Regions from separate parts of the Homo sapiens genome. Here all the other regions are linked to region 2. The links are contacts of gene promoters, found by promoter capture Hi-C in human tissues and cell types (Jung and others, 2019). All regions are on one chromosome and are shown on one strand. Each heading gives the region's core, a stretch centred on a gene start or on the middle of the fragment in contact. The rest is flanking DNA. Distances are from core to core; before and after follow the strand shown. Region 1 overlaps CBFB (core-binding factor subunit beta). Region 2 holds the start of GFOD2 (Gfo/Idh/MocA-like oxidoreductase domain containing 2). Region 3 holds the start of SLC7A6OS (solute carrier family 7 member 6 opposite strand).

The links. Contacts are between HindIII fragments. The study calls those that stand out against the background at their distance.
Region 1: a contact is called between a fragment that was not itself captured here and the fragment with the promoter of GFOD2 in region 2, in 1 of the 25 tissues and cell types used here (bladder).
Region 3: the fragment with the promoter of SLC7A6OS here is called in contact with the fragment with the promoter of GFOD2 in region 2 in 2 of the 25 tissues and cell types used here (heart right ventricle and spleen).

What each region holds. Positions count from the first base shown.
Region 1 is chr16:67,100,993-67,103,939 of GRCh38, forward strand. CBFB (core-binding factor subunit beta) reads left to right here. Exons shown (of 6, transcript NM_022845.3): 6 at 1-66. Among named protein-coding and RNA genes, the nearest start is that of PHAF1, 7.5 kb to the right of the region's middle. The HindIII fragment of the contact is 4,683 bases long and covers 1-2,947 here.
Region 2 is chr16:67,717,716-67,720,708 of GRCh38, forward strand. GFOD2 (Gfo/Idh/MocA-like oxidoreductase domain containing 2) reads right to left here and starts at 1,601. Exons shown (of 3, transcript NM_030819.4): 1 at 1,448-1,601. RefSeq lists an enhancer at 919-998 and silencers at 1,359-1,408, 1,469-1,518. The HindIII fragment of the contact is 6,116 bases long and covers 68-2,993 here.
Region 3 is chr16:68,309,390-68,312,402 of GRCh38, forward strand. SLC7A6OS (solute carrier family 7 member 6 opposite strand) reads right to left here and starts at 1,557. Exons shown (of 5, transcript NM_032178.3): 1 at 1,346-1,557; 2 at 946-1,224. The coding sequence starts at 1,537. It overlaps PRMT7 (protein arginine methyltransferase 7), which reads left to right and starts at 1,630. Exons shown (of 19, transcript NM_019023.5): 1 at 1,630-1,710; 2 at 2,653-2,787. RefSeq lists an enhancer at 562-1,526. The HindIII fragment of the contact is 13,375 bases long and covers 1-3,013 here.

The DNA of each region.
Region 1 (2,947 bases), core at 329-2,828, 620 kb before region 2:
CCATTGGCCATACTGTGTGTTTGTTTGTTTAATTTACTTTCACAATAAACTTCTGTGTAGTAAAAACAGGGTCTTGGCTCTTTCTTGACCTAACCCAGTAATTTCTAAGAAAGCAACAACAGTGGCATCTAGTGGTAATTTCTGTTGATTCCAAAGAAGACTACTTTAAATATAGGTATCACAAGGTATACAAATCCCCCAGTGTATATTATGGTTTTCAAGAAATCTGGCTTGATTTACCCATCCTGTGAGATATGACCATAAAGTAGTGATGTTGGGAGAAAGAATTTTAAATTACACATCCAAATTAGTTCCATCTTTCAAGCTAGTTGTTTTGGAAATATACAGCCGTTTTGATTGTGCTGGTGTTATATCAAACATTCTTAAGACTCCTGGCATTTTCCTACAACAGAAAAGTAAGCCCTTTTCCTTGAAAGTATGCCTTAAGCTTGACACATGATAAACAGATTCACTCATTAACCACAAGACTTACTGCAAATGACAAAAATGCCTTTAAATTCTGAATTGACACCATTAAGGGAAATTCCAAAGAGTAGGATTCATGCTCTGAGAGTTAATTTCAAAAAATTGAGCAGTAACAGCATGGTTTTAGTAAGTATATCACTTCTAGAAACATAATTGGATATGCTAGCTCGGGGCTGCTTGGTGAAAAATATCTTACTTGATTTATGCCTCATTTGGCAATGAGGAGCTTTTCAATCTATAAACCATTGTATTATCCATAACACATTACCCCAAAACTTAGCAGCTTAAAACAATAAATACGTATTATCCCACAGGTGAGTCACAAATCTGGAAGTAGCTAAGATCAATGGTTCTGGTTCAGAGTTCCTCATAAGGTTAGAGTCATCCTGGGCTACAGTCATCTCAAGGATTGACTGGATGAAAGATCCCCTTTCAAACCCACTAATGTGGTCACTGACTGGCCTCGGTTCTTTGCAGCTTGCTAGATGAAAGGCAGATGTTCCTTGCTAGATGTTGGACAGAGACCTGCTTCCATTTCATGCCCAGCTGGGTCTTTCCATAGGACAGTGCACAGCAGGGTAGCTGGCTTCCCCCAAGGCAAGTGATCCAAGAGAGCGCACACCCAAGTTGAAAGCACAGTCTTTTTTTTTTTTTTTTTTTTTTTTTTTTTGAGATGGAGTCTCGCTCTGTTGCCTAGACTGACTGGACTGCAGTGCTGCAATCTCAGCTCACTGCAACCTCCCCCTCCCGGGTTCAAGCGATTCTCCTGCCTCAGCCTCCCACGTAGCTGGGATTACAGGTGCCCATCAACATGCCCGGCTAATTTTTGTATTTTTCATAGAGACGGGGTTTCACCATGTTGGCCAGGCTGGTCTCAAATTCCTGACCTCAAGTGATTCGTCCGCCTCGGCATCCCAAAGTGCTGAGATTACAGGTGTGAGCCACCATGCCCAGCCAAAAGCACAGTCTTAGAACTGAATCTTGGGCTGCCATATTGTATGTTAGAATCAAGTCACTGGGTCTGGTCCACACTCAAAGGGGGAGGAATATTAAGCTTCATCTGTTGAAGGCGGGGATGTCAAAGCATTTGTGGACATCTTTCTAAACCACCATGGTGATATTACCAAATATACGTAACTGAGTATAAGATACCTTTGGTGTTTTGCCGGGCGCGGTGGCTCACACCTGTAATCCCAGCACTTTGGGAGGCCGAGGCAGGCAGATCATGAGGTCAGGAGATCGAGACCATCCTGGTTAACGGTGAAACCCCGTCTCTACTAAAAATACAAAAAATTAGACGGGTGTGGTGGCGGGCGCCTGTAGTCCCAGCTACTCGGGAGGCTGAGGCAGGAGAATGGTGCGAACCCAGGAGGTGGAGCTTGCAGTGAGCCAAGATCGCACCACTGCACTCCAGCCTGGGCAACAGGGCGAGACTCCATCTCAAAAAAAAAAGATACCTTTGGTGTTTTAATCTAAACATTCTTTAAAGGTAAGATTTCAGTCTTGCAGATTTGAATACATGATTCCCCCTAGATAGCATCAACCCCTTTTCTTGCATCACCATCATATATTCATATATGGCATTTCAGAAATGTTCCAAAGCTAAAAAATGACAGTCACAGGGTGAAATCATGGATGGAAATGGCAGTTTAGTTTGTTTAAATATGGAATATTCTGAAACAGATAAGTCACTGTTTTAGTCAACTCCCAGCTTTTGGTTAGAAAATTTAAGCAACTTAGAATTAAGGTCGTTATTGGCCTCATTCAGATTTCAGAAATGTTGAGGAGATGTTGTAGATAAAAATAAAAGGCCAGGCACAGTAGCTCATATCTGTAATCCCAGCACTTTGGGGGGCTGAGGCAGGAGGATTGCTTGAGGCCAGGAGCTCAAGACCAGCCTGGGCAAGATAGCAAGACCTTCATCTGCACAAAAATATTTTTCTTAATTAGCCAGGCATGGTGGTGCACACCTCTAAGTCCCAGCTACTTGGGAGGCTGGAGTGGGAAGATCGCATGAGCCGAGGATTTTGAGGTTGCAGTGAGCTATGATCTTGCCACCGCACTCCATCCTGGGCCACCAGAGCAAGATATTACCTATAAAAATAAAAATGGAAAATGTTGAAGTTCTATTTTTTTTTTGGAGACTAAAAGTATGGTTATCATTTAGGGGGGGAAATATCCAGTGTCCAAAATAAACATGTTCCCTGCTCACAAGGAATCTACAGTCTAGCTAAAAAGCTGACCAAAGGCAGTAACACTGTTTAAGTTACATTAGAAGTACTGGCTCTTATAGTACATCTATTCTAGTCTGGGTGGTGAATAAAAGCTTCCCTAAAGAGATGTTTTGAGGGTGGGTGCGGTGGCTCACGCCTGTAATCCCAGCACTTTGGGAGGCCGAGGCGGGTGGATCACAAGGTCAGGAGATCAAGACCATCCTGGCTAACATGGTGAAACCCCGTCT
Region 2 (2,993 bases), core at 351-2,850:
GGGAGGCGGAGATTGCAGTGAGCCGAGATCGCACCACTGCACTCCAGTCTGGGTGACAGAGTGAGACTCCGTCTCGATAGATAGATAGATAGATAGATAGAGAATTAGACCCAGACCAATGATTATTCCATGGCAAAGTGGGAAAACCAGGTGGTAAGAGATAACCTCTCACAACAGAATCTTTATCTGTGAAATAAGGATTCGACCAACAGAACCGTCTGTTGAAAATTTCCTCTCTTGGTCCAGGCAGGTTCTCTAAACTCCCAATCCCAAAGCAGTTAATTTTTTCACGTTTCCTGTAAAATGGATGGCCTTAAAACTCTTTTGTTCTCTAGTGTAGCTTTCCAGAAGGAAATAAGTTTCCTTATCAAGAATGAATCTAGCTTCCCCGACTCAAAAACAACCATCTTCTCTATATTGCTCCATATCACAATAAATTTAAGTGCCTTCCTTTTCTAAATTAAATGCTGTTCCCTTCAACTTAAGGGCCACACACTAAGGGCTATTCCTTTAGAGGCTTTTGGGCCCCACAGATCACAAAGGTGGTGCCCTGCCCTAGTTCTTTCTGGACATTTAAAAGGACATCCACTTTCTTGCCCTCAGGATAACATTATGGGAACAATGAACATAAATAAGACAGTTAAATAAGCTTCCCTGATGCCTATCCAATACAGCTTTCAACTCTTCTATCCTGCCTTGTTCTTTAGATCGTGCTGTAGTCTGGAGGGTAAACTCTTCACACAACCATTCCCAAGCCCTCATGTCCCTGTCCACTCTTCCTCCCTCACCTTTTAAGTGTGATAGGGCCTTGATGGGAAGACCTCACTTCACCTTTTGTCTCAAGTCCATCTGCTTCCTTCCAGAGCTACAAATACAAAGGTAGGCCAGGGCCATTGAGACGTGGCCATAGGGCACATGGGAGCTGGCAGAGCCACTCGCACCTTCTGGGGTGTCCCTTCTTCCACCTGTCAACTGAACACCCGTTTCTTAAAGATTTATCCCCAAAAGTCCCATCTCATTCTGAAAGGGGACGAACCAGCTACCCCACGAGCCCTTTGTCTGAGCTTCTACACCTCACACATCCTCATCCACAAAGCGTCCATCCTCACACAGTCAGGTGGTCCGCTCGGCACAGGGCGGGGGAGACTAGGTTTTTGCATCTGGTAAAAGGATGGGTTATGTCTCAGGTTCTTCCAGGATCCCAAATCCTATAATTCTACCACCAAGCCTGCGGGTCCTATTTCTGCGGTGGAAAGGGCGAATCCCAAGGCGACCCTCCACTCCACGCGCCTGCAGGCAGTTGGAACAAGCCCCCTCCAACCCCGGCTCTGCGGGTCCACGCCTCCAACCTCCGGCGCCGGGCCGCGGAGAAGGCCCTGTCGGCGCCCGCTCCCGGCCGCGCCATGCCCTCTTTCGCCCTCACCCGCCACCGGTGGCCGCCTCTCACCTGGCACGCTGGCATCGCCCACTCCGCGCTGCACTGGAAACCATGGGTCCGACGGGGTCTCGGGGGCCACCCATCCGCCTTAAGGAAGGCTGGCGGGGATGCGCGGGCCCGGGAGTCCAGGGCGCCGCCACCGGGAACGCGCCGCCTGGTTTCTAAGGAACTGGGGGCTCTGGAAAGGGAGGGGCGGGACGGCAGGAGGACTGCGCATGCTCCATAACGGGGATGGGCCTGCGCTGGGAGGGGCCGTAGCCGGGAGCTGCGCATGCTCGCTTTTTGGGGGCGGAGCTTAAGCAGCCTGGCTAGGAGGCTCAGGTTATTCATTTCCGGCGGCGGAGGCGGCAGTTTCCTAAGCTTGGCTTCTCTCCGGTCCGCTGACCGGCGTCAGGGACCAGGTTTTGGTAGCTGTGGGTAGCCTCAGTTGTCCTGGAATGAAAGACGGTTTCGTGTTGGACAAGGACATATCTGCAGAAGGCCAGTTCTCTCGAACTCGTCGGACTTCCTGGCTCCCTGACCCCCAGTGACTCGTTTTTCCGTTTTCTCAGGTGCCTGTCTGGGCTCCTCTTCCTCTGGATGTTTTTTGATTGTTCCTTAAATATCAGTGCTCTTCAAGACTGTAACCTCAGTCCCCTTGGCCTCTTTACTGAAGCCTATGCCCCACCAAATAGCAAACTATCCGCTAGAGTAAGGAAGCCGTTAGACCTTAGAATAAAACTGCCTGTGTAGGAAATGTGATTGGGGTTTGTATCTGCATGGGGAGCCCCCGTCCCTGCTTGTCTGACCCTCCTGCTGAGTATCAAGATCCCCACTCAGCTGGCATTAGGATGATCTCCCAGCCATCATTCCAGAGCAGCCTGTGGTGACAGAATATGTCAGCTGACCTAAGCGTGAGGCAGTTCCTACTGAGATATGCTAACTAGCAGCAGAGCTATCCCTGCTTTGAGCGGAGACAGGACTCCTACCACCTCTGTGAGGAGCATGGAAGGCTTCCAAAGTGATGAGAAGTTGTAACCCCTAAACCCCCCCTCTTCTGATGGGATTTTATCCTTTCTCTCCTGGATCCTCTAGAGCCAGGCAGAAGGAAGGCAGAGTCAAAATGTGCCTGTTTGATCTGTTTCTTAGTCATTGTTCGGAGTTCCACTCTTCTTGAGTAGGATTTCTCAACAGTGGCACTATTGACATTTTGGACCTGATAATTCTTTGTTGGGCAGGGGTGGGGGGAGCTGTCTGCATTGTAGGATGTTTGGCAGCATCCCTGGCTCTACCCAGTAGATGCCAGTAGCACCCCAAGCCCAGTTGTGACTACCAAAAATATCTCCAGACATTGCCAAGTGTCTCCCTGGGAGCAAAATCATTCCCAGTTGAGAACCACTAGTCTAGGGGGAAATGAGCCTACTCTGGCTTTACTTATATAGAACCAGGACTTTATGCTTAATCTAAAACCCATATTTTCCCCTTTATGCTACCTCTTCCCTAAGAGCATTCTATAGAGTAATAGTCCTGTAAGATTCTGCTGAGTGACACAGTCTGTAGTAACTTAAGTTTGGAA
Region 3 (3,013 bases), core at 307-2,806, 590 kb after region 2:
TCTCACTCTGTCACCTAGGCTGAAATGCCACTGCCGCACAATCATGGCTCACTGTAGCCTTGACCTCCCCAGGCTCAAGTGATCCTCCCGCCTGGGCCTCCCTACGTGCTAGGATTAGGCGTCAGCTACTGTGCCCAGCCTCAAGGAGAATTTTCCATTTCTGTAGTTTTGCTGCATGTAGTAGACTTTTTTTGGAAGTGATTGCAAATGAAGTTAGCAAATGTAATATAAAGAAAAGCACTGGATTAAATGTGAGAAAACTTGCATTCTAGACCTAAATCTACCTCAAACTTGATATGCTATCCAGGACTATTCCTTTAACCTCTCTTTGATCAATTTTCCTACCTGCTCTATCTCTATTTTGCTCCAGTGATCCCCATCTCAGTCAGGGTGAAAGGCAATGTCCTTGCAAGTACCTAGCAGGCATCCTCCCCTCAAATTCCTTACTGCTCTCCTCTAGCTCACCGGGCTCCAGGCACCTTGCAAGGAGCAAAGAAACGGCTTAAGGGCCTCTTTACTTTCAGGTTCTCTGCCTAGAAGTCCTCTCGATATGTGGAATACCCTGCCATTCACCTTCTGCAAGTCTTCACTCAAATGTCATTTCCTCAGTGACACTCTCACTGAAGTGGCACCACTCTTCCTGCTTTGTCTCCCCGCCTCCTTACATCCCTTATCATCATCTGACACTGAATAGACTTGTTTACTGTTTCTGTCTACCTGCATGTTAGGTCCTCACTGCTGTATCCACAGAATCTAAAAAAATACCTGGCATATCGTAGGCACGTAGTAAACACATGTTGGATGAACAACCAAATCTGTAAAATGAGGCCGTCACGCCGGATGGATCATCCATCCCCTTAAGATGAAACTGTGCTGCGACTGGGCCCAGTCTTCTTGCATTACCATCCTGAGAAGCCCAGCGACCACCTTCAGGGGCATACTCACTTTGCAGGAGCCTGCAGAGGCGGCTTCAGGTTCTCCCTCCTCGTGGACAAGGTCTAACAACTGAAAGCCCGAGTTCCCGGCGGCTTCTGGGTTCCCCGGCGTGTACTCGGACTCCTGGCCGCTCGAGGTGGTCCCCAAGGATCGGCGGCTGGAAAGCACCCGGTAGCGGCCCTCCTGCCGGACCTCCCGAGCCGAGGCGCGGAGATTACGGCGGACACGCTGCTGGCTGTCCCGTGACGGGCGCAGAACTTCCCGCAGGAGAGGCTGGACTGGTTCCTCCTAGGGGGCAACAGGGGACGGAGGCCAGCGTAAGCAGGAGTTCGCGAGCGGGTCAGGGATCGGGTTTCGTACCGGCTGCACCCGAAGATGCCCTCCACACCAGCTGCACCACGCCCAATACCTGGGAGCACACAGTGGCCACCAAGTGGAAGACATTATTCTCCGCCGCTCTCTCCAAACCCTCCGACGTCTTCTGTGCCGCTGACTCGACCGCGTCGCTCCGGAGGCGTTTACAAGCGAGCACAAGAGCCTCCGCCGGCTCCGCACTGCGCTTCCGCTTCACCCGGAGTACAGCGGTCCTGGCGGCCTCCATAGTGGCTGCCGCTGAGCACTGTGGGAGCTCGCGGGGTGTGATGGGATAGCTTTCCAGTTCTGCTTTAGGACCCGCCCCCCAGCACGCTCCTCGACGCTGCGAGGTCCCGCCCCGCGTGCTGGCCGCGGTAAAAGTGGTAGCAGCGGAGGCGAGCGGAGGGTTTCCCGCGGCGGGTGAGGCGCTGGGTATGCTGGGAAGGTGGGGTCGCTTTGGGGTTCTGTGTGCAGCGAGCATGGTGTCCTTGGCACCAGGGTTTCGGCAGAGGAGCCTAGCGTGGGCCTACTTGGACTCCTCCGCGTGGGGCAGCTCGGGACACCCGGGCCTGCAGGAGAGCGGGGTTCTAGGCTGGCCCCGGCTCTGCAGTGCAGCCGGGTGCCTGCCACTCGCGGGGCTCTGTCGCAGTACTCGTGCCTGGCGCCTCCCCTCAGCCACAGAGACCGCAGTAGCTCCAACCATCGCACCCCTAACTGGGCCACGAGTTCTCTGATTGCCAGACCTGTTGTCTTTGCCACTCACTGTTCTGAGTAATTGGAGAGTCGTGTATTCACTACACGCCAACCAGAGTGGTCCTGTAAAAGCGTAAGCCTAGTGTAGATACGCTTCTGCTTAAAACTCTTGAGTGGCTCCCAGTGCTTTTAGAACAAAATCCAAACGCCTTTCCGAAGTCGACAAGGCCCAGCTTGATTGAGCAGAAGATGTGATAGGAGATGAGGAGCGGGGGGCTTCTGCAAAAGTGCTTCGGTCGCTCAGGCTTTTGGCACATTTTGCTTATGCAACCTAGTTCTTTCTACCTTAGGGCCTTTTCTTGGGAAAGTTGGGGTAAGGATTCCTGACCTGTAAAAACTCTTCCCCAACTTTTATCCCGGTCTGTCTTGTAGATCTCAAATGCTAGTTTCCTCAGAGTCCTTCTGTAACCTTGGTTTTCTCTTTCTACAACGCTCTGTGTATTTCTTGCATTCATGTAGTCTGTAATTTGTATTACTCTCTCATTAGAGTCTAAGCTCTTGGAGGGCAAGGGTCTTCTCTAGCTTGTGGTGGTGGCTCCAGTCCCTAATATAGTGCCTGGCACATAGAAGGTATTTAATAAATTTTGTTATTTTATTTTTTCGAGACAGAGTCTCACTCTGCTGCCTAGGCTGAGTGCAGTGGTGTGATCGAGGCGCACTGCAGCCTTGACCTCCTGGGCTCAAGCGATCCTCACCTCGGCCTACCGAGTAGCTGGGACTACAGGCACGCGCCACTACACTCGGGTAATTTTTAATTTTAATATATGTATATTTATATATATATATATATATATATATTTTTTTTTTTAAGACAGGGTCTCACTCTGTCACCCAGGCTGGAGTTCAGTGGCGCCATCTCTGCTCACTGCAACCTCTGCCTCCCGGGCTCAAGTGATTCCCCTACCTCAGCCTCCCGAGTAGCTGGGAGTAACTGGGACTACAGGCACAGGCCACCGCGCCCGGCTAATTT